Linked DNA regions of Homo sapiens: region 2 is linked to region 1. Evidence: promoter capture Hi-C in 16 types of primary human blood cells and fetal thymus (Javierre and others, 2016). All regions are on one chromosome and are shown on one strand. Each heading gives the region's core, a stretch centred on a gene start or on the middle of the fragment in contact. The rest is flanking DNA. Distances are from core to core; before and after follow the strand shown. Region 1 holds the start of SLCO3A1 (solute carrier organic anion transporter family member 3A1). Region 2 overlaps SLCO3A1 (solute carrier organic anion transporter family member 3A1).

What was found. The method cuts DNA at HindIII sites, captures the fragments that hold promoters and counts their contacts. A CHiCAGO score of 5 or more calls a contact.
Region 2: a fragment that was not itself captured here is called in contact with the fragment with the promoter of SLCO3A1 in region 1 in 2 of 17 cell types (M1 macrophages and non-activated CD4 T cells); the score reaches 5.5 in M1 macrophages.

The regions. Positions count from the first base shown.
Region 1 is chr15:91,851,532-91,856,886 of GRCh38, reverse strand. SLCO3A1 (solute carrier organic anion transporter family member 3A1) reads right to left here and starts at 3,179. Exons shown (of 10, transcript NM_013272.4): 1 at 2,799-3,179. The coding sequence starts at 2,978. RefSeq lists silencers at 3,575-3,714, 3,583-3,757. The HindIII fragment of the contact is 9,711 bases long and covers 1-5,355 here.
Region 2 is chr15:92,087,151-92,093,008 of GRCh38, reverse strand. All of the region lies in intron 2 of SLCO3A1 (solute carrier organic anion transporter family member 3A1), which reads right to left. Among named protein-coding and RNA genes, the nearest start is that of SLCO3A1, 240 kb to the right of the region's middle. RefSeq lists an enhancer at 1,341-2,077. The HindIII fragment of the contact is 3,406 bases long and covers 1-3,153 here.

The DNA of each region.
Region 1 (5,355 bases), core at 1,930-4,429:
TTTAAGGCACCTGGGGAGATGAAATAAGAAGGTGGACTCTGGGAATCTAATAGGAAATAACATCGTTGGCATAGAATTTGTAACCACCCTCCTCTCTGTGAAAGGGAGCATTACTGGCACTGTCCCAAGGCAAGTCCTTCCTCAAGTATCTGGAAATGCCTCATTAGAGAGGCAGGCTGATTGCCAAGGTAAGGATCACGTATAACGCACACTTAGCACGTGGACCCTGCCCTGTGGTCCCCTACAGACACAAGGTCTCAGGTTTCCTAAGAAAGCCATGATGAATTAAAAGGAAGAAATGTGCCTTTCCTGCAAACAGCCTGCAATATTTCATTCTCCAATTATCCACAGAGAAGTCTCGCATGGCTGAAGGAGCAAACTTTTTTTCCCCATCTCCCAAATAACAGATGAAGAGAAAACTCTGAAGTGGCCCAGAAGAGCAAAGCCCATAGCAAGCTGCGTCAGTCAACCCTGACAAGCCAACTATTTATTTTCATGAGGCTCCGATGGCAAGGCAAAGACGAGGGCAGCCGGGCAAAGCAGAGCCCTTAGAGCCTTATGCCTCCACTCCTAGTAATCAAAATGAATTCAATTTCCTAGGCCTGTCCTCTCCTGGGCCTCCAGCTGCTTTCTGCAAGTCACCTGTTGACTCCTGTTACCCTACCCCACCCAACCAGGCTTTCCATCAGCGAAGGCTAGAAGTGCCAGGATGCCGCCACCAGGTGGACCGAATTCCTCCTCTGCTTGCCATTCCCCTGTTCTGGGATTAAAGTCAACCTCCTATCTCCTGGGGCCAGCCCTGCCTCCAGAAGTCCACCACTCCAGGAGTACTCGGCTTCTTAACTTTCTAAAGGAGCTAGGCCATTCATCTAGTTGCAGCCCAGCTTCATTTATTTGTCAAATCCTTAGATCACTGCAACCGAAAAATAGTAAGCCCACGCTTTTATCACTCCTGGGGTGAAAAGTTCTGCGGGTGTTTGCCACACATGAATAATGCACTCTACCGAGCAAAATTGGTTTGAGGCAAACAAACCGTTAAAGTGGAGGCAGCTGTTGATATACTAATTACCTCCTTCTAAACATAGACCCGGTTAGGTATTATGTACTTTGCATATGTCACAGTACAGACCCACATATATTTTATTAATGTGAATTTGCATCTCTGTAATACATGTACTTATTTAAATATTTTAACAGTTAAATTTCCCCTAAGGAAGTGCCGATAAACTGACTCCCAAAACACAATTATCCCCTATCCCTCAAATTCCAAGGGCTAATAGGTACTGTCTGCAACTGCATATTATAACTATAGACACAATAAGTGTATTTTATAGAACAGAAAACAAGGTATGCTTTTGACTACAGGGTTCACTTGCAGTCTACAAGTTACGAATGCACAAGACAGAGACCGGGATGTAAACGCTTTTCGTCTCAGAATGAGCAACAGAAATGTATTTGATTTTCAAAAGCCCTGAAATTCTGTCACCCCAGGAACAGAGCTGAGTTTGAAGACCCCCTCTCTCACAACCACCTAACTTCCTCAACACCGGAGACCAAGCACTGCTTGTATTTCCCTTTAACAGTGAGCCCTGAGCCTTAAGAGATAGTTTATGAATGGTATACAGCCCCCAGCGTCTGGCCCTCATGAACTTTACCCCAAGGCCAGGAATGAGGGATTAATCATAGCATCAGGATACGCGTGGTTCTATCTCTGGATGTGGTTATTCAATGGCCAAAATCTTGTCCAATTCTATCTCCATCAAACTTGCTCAGGAATACTCAAAGTCTATGACATTTGATTCCAGTTGCGGGTCAATAGCCAAGTAATGATTTAACACTATAAACTCTCAAAAAAAATTTCCCGTTTAGACAGGACTGTACTTAGGTGTGGAAGCACGCTCTCTGGAACTCAAGTTGCGACCACCTGAGCAGAGGAGGCGAAAGCGACAAAGTAGGTACCTGACAGTGCTGAGTCATTACAAGCTGTTTCCTCTGAAATGTTACGCACCCATGGGCCCTCTGAGCATTAACATCCCCTTTCTGGAGGCAAATAAAATACATATTCATTGTGGAAAATGGTGCAACCTTCTGTAGGCGACAGACCACGATGGGGAATTTAGCACTAAGAGTGGATAGCAGGAACTACACAAACTCGCAGCTGCTCTCTAGGTACCGTAACTTTATCCCAGACGCTCAAAGAGGGCTATAGGGATACCGGGTGGCAATATTCCCCCTGCAGCCCCGGCTCAGGCCAGGGCCACACTAGGGCGCATTTCACTCTAAGCTGTTATATCCCCCTGTAATTGGCGGATGTAGAAAGCGCCCGGAGAAAATGATGCATAATAGATTTGTTCTCGAGGAGGATGCAATGGAGAGTAGAGGACGCAGGATGCTAACTGGTTTTTCTTCCCATGTGCAGGTCACCTGAAAACCCCGACGCTTTTTCGTTCCTCTCCAAGGAGAACCCTGAACTCACCGTCTCGCTCCGCTCTTATGGGGGGAGAGGAATAGTTTCACGCCCACCTGCCCGCCGCCTCTCCTCCCCCGGCACCCCCTGCCCCAGCCGGACGCGCGCGAGCTGCTACCGGCATCAACGGTCCCGCCCGCTACCCGCTCGCTGGCAGCCCCGGCCGGCAGCTCCCCCGGCGGCCGCCTCTGCACCACTCGCCAACCTCCACGCCGGGCCGAGGTCATGCCCGCCTGCCCCCAGCGCCGGGCGGCCCCCTCGTCGGGCCAGGCGGCCGCTCGAGAGCCGGGCTGGGGAAGGGGCCCGCGGCGGAGTTGGCTCGGGGACTCACCAGGTAGGCGCCCACCGTGCCCTGCGCCAGCATCAGGGCGCACTCGGACACCAGGAAGATCTTGATGTTGGAAAAGCAGGACACCTTCTTTTTCTTTTTCTTGTTCCTCTGCGCCTCGTCCCCCTGCAGCTCGCCGCTCCGGCCGCCGCCCGACGAACCGCCCGGCTTCTTCCCCTGCATCCTTCCCCCGCCGCCGCCGCCGCCGCCGCCGCTGCCGCTTTCCCGCTCGCCCCGGGTGTCGGGGCCGCTGCCGGGCGGGGGTGCGCGCCTCGAGGCTGCGTGCTGTCCCCGCCCCGGGTTCGCGGCGGCCGCCCCCGTCCTGCCGGGGCTGGAGAGGTGGAAGGCACAGCTCCTCGCCGCCGCCGCCGCCGCCGCGATCGCCCCTTCCTCCTCCTCCTCCCCCGCCTCCGCCCTCCCCTGGCCTCCTCCTCCGGCTCCGGCTGTGCCAATCACAGGGGCTCGTCGCGCCGCCCGCCGCCGCCGCTGCCTCGCCTCCCGCGGCCGCCCGCCGCTGCCATCGCCCGGTTCCCCTTGCCCGCCGGCCGCGCCTGCTCTCACCCCCTCAGCCCCAGCCCCAAGGCCTGGGCCTGGGCCGCCGCTGCGCGCCCTCGCCGAGCCGCTCCTCGCTGCCGGTGCGCCCCCGGGGAGGCACGGGAGGCGGGCTTGGGATGCGGAGGGCGGCCCGGCGGCCGAGGCTGGGAGGGTCCGGCTGCCGGGAGAACTGGGGAGACCCGGAGTCCTTGCGGAGTAAGGGGGGTGCCCCTGAGGGCGGGAGGCGGCGCCCGGCCCCTAGGTGGCGCTGCGGGGCACGGGGCCCCGCGGCGGAGACTGGCGGCTCTGCGCCGGGCGCGGAGATGGGGTGCGGAGGCGCCCCCGCGGGGCTGGGACCCGGCGCTCGGGAACCCGGGTGCCCAGGCCTCAGAGGGCAGGCTGTTCCCAGGAAGGGAGAATACTGAGTACCCAGGAAGGGCTTGGCGCGCGCTCTTCTCCGCCCGGGGATTTCTGGGGACAGATGTTGTGCTCTGGGTCTTGGGGAGGTGCCAGAGGTCAGAGCTGCTTGAGGCTTCTGCCGCCTGCCGGTTTCTGCCCCAGCTGTCCCCGGCCACAGGGGGTGTTGAAAAGGCCCCAGACCGAAAGGACAGAAAGGGGAAGTTAGAGGAATACGTCGGGAGCCCCACGGACCGTTAGTGCCCCAGCCTCGGTGTCCAGGCGCTGCAAGATCGCCGCGGCCCCAGCAGAGGGCCTTCTCCGGCCCTTCATCCGCCCAGGGCCCCGCTGCTGGAGCGCTCAGCAAGCGGCCAGCCGCAGGCCTGCTGGGTCCCCACCCGTCCCCTGGCTCTGTGGCCCTGGCCACCATCCTCGGCCTTGACCTGAATGCCTGGCCCATGGCAGCCGCTCCTAATTACTCCCCACTCTCACCGTTACCAAGGAGTGTGGGCCACAGGGCACTACCAATAGGATCTGCTAGTTCTCAACTGCAGCGTTTGGAAGCTGAGAGAAAAGCTCAGAGGGCTGGACAGGTACCAGGAAACAGCACCTTCCACCTGGGCCATTGGGGGACTCAAGGAATCATTTAAAACGGTTTCCTTAATAATTGTGTCAAAGAAAATGACCCACTCTCCCAAGCGCCTGTGTCCAAATGCAGGCTCAACTTCAAAACTGAATAGCAATGAACCCGACCATATTTTTCCTTTCTCCCGAAGAACTTGAATGAGAATGGAGGGTGTAATGGTGGGGATGTTGTTTTGCCATGGCATTTAAATATAAACTGCTTCATCCTTCTGTGGCTCCAGACGTGATCTCACCCAGGCTTGGTGTCGCTTTGAGATGCCCTCACCTTGTCTAGGCCACCTCCTATCTGAATTGGCTCCCCCCACACTTGAAGTCTCTTCCCGTCTTCCCCACTTCCTGAATCAGTGGTCACACCATTCCCGGCCAGTCCTATAATGAGAATCCTTACTGCCCCCTTCTTTCTTCCCCACACCCTCCTATCACTCGGAGCCAACTTCTCTGCAGGATCTTTATGTCCCCCTCTTTCCCTCCCCATCACTTTGCTTCATGGGCTACCTCCCCACTTCCTCCTGAGAAGACCCTTGACAAGCTAGCTCTGTTCCCTGCCTCTGTGACGGTAAGCTGCAAAGCTGAGCTGAGACTTGTCTACGAATGGTGACCCCATTGCTAATGAAATGTGCGGAGTGCTTTATAGTCTTCAACTCTTATTTACATTCTTTGTAATAACAAGAGCTAATGTTTACTGTGTGCTTATTATGGCCAGACACCATTCTCAGTGCTTCACCCGCATTTACAACGTAATCCTCACAGCAATCCTCTAAACCAGATACTATTATTAGCCTTGTTTTACAGATGAGACAACTGAGGCCTAGAAAGGTTAACCTGACCAGTGTCACTTGTCTAGTAAGTGGCAGGGCAAGTCTTTGAAAACCAGGTTGTCTGCCATCATAGCCCAGGTTCTTTATAACTACATACATATTATCTCGTTTATCACGCAGTGTGGTTCATCTGATGGGGAGGCTGGGACTTATGTTGTTCCTCTTTT
Region 2 (5,858 bases), core at 201-2,700, 240 kb before region 1:
CTGAGTCCACCCTCAGCAAAATCCTACTTGGATGCGAAGAAATCTGGAAGTTCCACTGTTTCCAAATAGTCACTCCATGGCCAACCAGAAACTGTAGAATCTTATTTCTGTTAATAAGGTGCATTTTAGAAAATGAAAATGTGTCACTTTGGAGAGGAGTGACGTTCACATGATCAGCACATTATCTCTGGTTTGTCATAACTTTAAGATAACCAAGCACACAAAGTTGGGGGCAGGGGATGTTACTGGAAAAGATCTTTCGGAATGGGCTAGAATTAGGGGGCTCTATTTAGTGGGGTTGTGGTTAGGGAGCAGAGCAGCAGGAAGAGGATCTGAGAAAGCAGCAGGAAGTAGAGGGCATGGAGAACAGTTGTCCGAGTCAGAAGCGGCACCCACACTAGACCAGAGAGATTCCTGCAAAGTCCTGAAGCCAGTCATATCCTCCCATCCAGGCTGCAGGCTGTGGTAAGCCAGCAGTCAGAGTTACTGGCACTCTAGAGACGGCTCAGCAAACAAACTCACTGCTCAGGCCTTCCCAAAAGAACGGGACACAGAGCACAGGGATACAATTCTCTTGCCATGGGTGCTGTGCCTACCCTTCTTGACTCATCTGCTGTGACTCCCGGCACCTCCCCCATCACCCATAATCATAGCCCTTCTTCCCTTAAATAAATCCCCCAAGCAATGTATTCGTCACTGATCCATGCCCTACAGACTGAATAATGAGAATTATTATTAATACTTAATGGGTCAAAGGACCAAGCCTTCAGCATCCTTGGAAAAACAGAAACAACCAACAAGCTGAAGGGGTTGCATCGAGACTGTGCTGTTATCCCCATGCTTGGGGACAGTACAGTTGAAAGTGAGGACTAGCCAGACATCATAGCACAATTGGGGTCCCAGGCCTCCTGCCCTCTTGCAGAAAAGGAGGGGCGTCCCTCAAGCTGCTGGCCTCAGCTGTCCACAGGAGCCCCACAGGGCCCAGATGGGCCAGTGACTGGGGATGGTGGCTTGAACAGGGAACAGCAGTGGCCTGCTGTGGAGACACCACACCCTGAGGCAGCCTCTCCACCAAATTCCTCTATGAGAAGGTGTGGGTTTCCAGAGTTTGGATTGTGGCTTTTTCAAGGTCCTGTTCTCATCTGGGTTTCAGCTGAACAAAGATAAGCTAAAAAGGAACAGGACGGAGTTGATAGGACCCCACGCCAAACACCAAAGACATTGTGCACACGTATTTTGGTATAAAAGGCATCTTCCTCCTCAGGTGCAACCTCTGGTCACTTTTCTATGTCGCTCCTCGTCACACGGACCTCAAGGTAAACCACCACCTGCAACGCGTTCTCGAACCTTTTTCAAAGGACAGTCCGGTGGTGGGACGTGGGAGGGGCCTTCGTGCATCGGGAAGTGCCTTCAGAAATATCTTAACAACTGAAACGAGCAGCTTCAGAAGGCCCAGATGTGCAAGGCAGGTTCTGAGCTAACAACGGTTATGCTGAGCTTTCTTCCTTGGTTTCCCCCTTAATTCATCCTGCCAGGCTGTGATTTTGTTCTTGTTTTGGCAAAGCCAGCTCGAATGTTCTGCCTGAATGGAGGAGGAGCAGATTGCCAGGTACTGAGATGCAGGATCCCTGTGGAAGGAAGGGCCAGCGCCTCCAGGTGCAGAACCTTCTGCAGCGGCCCGGTGCTGCCCCCTGCTGTCTTCCAGGTTCATGTATGTCGGTGGGGAGGAGAGCCTGGGATTCCCTAGTCAGGGAGGTCTGAAGGCTTTCTTTGCTACTACCCTGGATAATTGAAAGCACTTTACATGCCTGATCTCCTGGAAGCCATTCAATGACCCCAGGGGGAAGTTTACTGGGCCTGTTTCACAGCGGAAAAACAGAATCTTAGAGTGGTTCAGCACCTGGCCCCAGCACGTTGCTAGAAAGCAGCACAGTGGGAAGGATTGCCCAGGTTTTCTAACCCCCTAAGGGAAAAGTCCAGGTGAGAGTATGAACAGCCTGGGTTCAAATCCCAGCTCTACCACTTCCCAGCTCCATGAACCTTTGGGCAAAGTACATTTAACCTCCCATGCCTCAGCTTCTTCTTCTGTAAAGTGGGGGTAACAATAGATCGACTTCATGGGGTTGTGGTGAGGATTGAATGACCTCCTATTTGCAAACCTCTTAGAAAAGTGTCTGGCATACAGAAAGACCCAGGGAAGGGTTTGTTAAATAGATGACACCTGTGACTCTCCTACAACGAGGGCTGGCACCCACCTGGGTTCCCAGTCCTTCTCTTTCCAAAGCTCACTACACCCTCCATACCTCATTTCTTAAAGCTATCTTTGGGGGAGAGGGGCTGGAGCTGGGAGCAGGCCAGGCCCAGGAAGGAGTTCTTGCTGGGAAACAGCTGTAATCTCAAGCCTCATCAGCATCCAGACTGACTGGATGTCCGGAGTCCACCCCACTGATCTGCTGCTTGCCAAGCCAAGCACATTGGCACACTGGGTTGCCAGCCCGACCTCCCAGGGATGAGATGGCTGGACAAGGGGACAAGGGTTTGAATGCAGTGCTCCCCTGCATGGTGATCTGGCTCTGGCATTCTGTACACAGGCCTTCAGTGAATTAGCACAAATCTTCAGTTTACAGACTGTGCTGGGACACCATTGGGTACTGCAGTGAACTCACAGGGGTAAGGCAGAATATCTTGAGTTTCTAAGGGAAACACAGCAATACCTGACATCTCTTGGACATGTGAATCTACTATCCCAAGGTAGCCTATGGTGTCAACACTGGATTTCTTTCAGTGACATTACATCTTTGTGAGCTGAGTTTTCCATAGTTGCTGTGAGAAAACCAAGTGTGGAAATCAATATGCACAGAAAATGAGGGTGGCAATGTCCAATCTGATTCCAAGGTTTCAGAAACTGTGCAGTTGCCAACAGGGACACACATCCCATTAGTAAGCGATTATGACTAAAATATATATATATTTTCTGTTGATACGTATCATGGTTTTCGAGCAGCTACTCTATGTTGTGAGGATAGCAACACTTACTAAGCAGTATGAGCCTAACTGCTTGATAAACAAAACTACTACGTATTTCTTTTGGACTCAGGACGCTGTGAACCAAGTAAGTTTGGGACCCTCTGTTGCAAATTTGCCTGAGAAGCTTATTATCTCAACTTATACCCAGATGATGAAGAGTTTCTGCCCATGACAGATTAGTCTAGGTATACACTACGGCAAATTCCTTAAGAAAACGACCTCCAGCAAGACTTCCTGGTGGTGAGTCTGCCTTTTCCCGCACTATATAATCTTTAAATTCAGCACCAGCCACCTCTGGACCCTGGGGAAGAAAAGATAACTTGGACAAGAATTTTGCCCTCAAGAAGCTTCCTGTCTTATTAGAAAGACTTTCCACCACTCTCGGTCAACAAATACCCACTGAGAACCTCCTACTTGCTAGGACTATGTCAGCAACAGTGAACACTATGGGACATAGCAGTGAACAAAACAGATGAAAACCTCACCCTTGTGGAGTTTGAAGAATGGCAACAAACACAAATCTATCACATGATATCAGGAGCAGTACCAAGATGAGAGTACATGATGGTGAGGGGCTACAGGAAGACCCCACCCTGCACCGAGTCCTCCACACCATGTGCCACGCAGTGTCAGATGAACTTTAATAAAGCTGGGGTGGCTGGGCGTGGTGGCTCACGCCTGTAATCCCAGAGCTCTGGGAGGCTGAGGCAAGCGGATCACGAGGTCAGGAGATCAAGTTCATCCTGGCTAACACGGTGAAACCCTGTCTCTACTAAAAATACAAAAAATTAGCCGGGCGTAGTGGCAGGTGCCTGTAGTCAACAGCTACTCAGGAGGCTGAGGCAGGAGAATGGCGTGAACCCAGGAGGCGGAGCTTGTAGTGAGCCGAGATCACGCCACTGCACTCCAGCCTGGGCGACAGAGACAGACTCCATCTCAAAATAAATAAATAAATAAATAAATAAATAAATAATAAATAAATAAATAAAGCTGGGGTAAGTGGACTCACAGGGGTTCCACTACCATGGCAGGAAGAACAGTGGCCCCCAAAAACCTCCACATCCCAATCCCTTAAGGCAACTATGTTACCTTAAGCGACCAAGAGGAATTAAGATTGTAGACTAAGAGATTATACTGCAGAGTCCCCATAGGCACAATCTTATCACAAGGATCTTTTAAATGTGAAGAGGGAGTCCGAGTCAGAAATGGGGATGTGATGGCAGAGCCAGAGAGACGGCATCATGAGAAAGAGCTGACTAGTCATGCTGGCTTTGAAGATGGTGGATGGCCATGAGCCAAAGCTTGTGGGCAGCCTATAGAAGCTGGAGAAGGCAACAAAACAGATTTTCTCCTCCACGCAGGATCACAGCCCTGCCAGCACCTTGATTGTAGCCCAGTAGGACCCAATATGGATGTCTGACCTCCAGAAGCGTAAGATAACAAATTTGTGTTTTACACTAAGTTTGCAATAATTTGTTACAGTAGTGATAGAAAACTAATACAATCGTTAAGCAAATCTGGGTTAAACTCCAAGACTTCTCAGATCTCATAAATGCTAATATGCATGAATGGAATATTGCACAAAGGTTTTGTGTTAATTATTTGACCACAAAACATTTTTTTGTGTGTGTCATTTCTCAGTCCTGGTGTTGACTGCAGCACAGTCCAAGAGACACTGTTGTAGATGCTAAGCCCCTCAGGCAGAGATGATGCTTTATTCTTCTTTATATTCCTATTTCGCCCCAGTGCTGATGGACAGTAAGTTCGCTGTTTGTTGAAAGGATGTGTGGTTGAGAGCACTAGTCACAGTGGCCATGCAGAAGAAGGAGTGAGTGACTCTTCTTGGCAATTGCTTGCCCAGGCTCACCTGGCCAGTTGGTGGCAGAGCTGGGACCCAGACCCAAACCTCCTCTTTCCCTGACCAGTGCTCTTTCCCCAAGTCCCTCTGCAGATGTCTCTGTCTGTGCTGTGGACTCTCCCACTCGATGTACCTCCTTCTAGATGCAATCCGACCATGGGACTCACTAAGTCTACAAGAAGGGTCAGGCTAGGTGCATGTAACCAGAAGAATTTGGAAAATACAACTGGAAACTTGAAATTTTCTGGTCCAGGAAGAATTATTCAACTTTAATACTATTACTGATATAAGATAATAATAGATGGGGCTGGGCGTGGTGGCTCACACCTCTAATCCCAGCACTTTGGGAGGCCGAGGCAGGCAGATCACCTGAGGTTGGGAGTTCAAGGCCAGCCTGACCAACATGGAGACAACCCCGACTCTACTAAAAATACAAAATTAGCTGGGCATGGTGGTACATGCCTGTAATCCCAGGCACTCAGGAGGCCGAGGCAGGAGAATTGCTTGAACCTGGGAGGCAGAGGTTGAGGTGAGCCAAGATAGCGCCATTGCACTCCAGCCTGAGCAACAAAAGCGAAACTCCAGCTCAAAAAAAAAAAAAAAAAAATAATAGATAATAAAAGTACTAGGCAACATTTTGTGTTTGTGGAATGTAGCAAGGTGATTCTAAATTGTTCATAGAAATGCTAAGGACCAAGACCAGTCTAGACATGTTTGAAGAAGCACAACTGTTGTCAAGACTTTCCCTGTTGGGTATCAGGACTTCTTTTAAAGCCAAGGTGCCTCTGGCACAAGAAATAACAAATATAGCAATGAAGCAAAAGAGAAGCCCAACAACAGATCCACACCCTTACAGACACCTGCTTTATGACAAAGTGTGCACTGCAAAACAGTTGGGGAAAGAATGGTATTTTCCATAAATGGTGCCAGGACAATTTGCAACTATAGGCGGTGGGCGGAGGGAGGGGGGTGG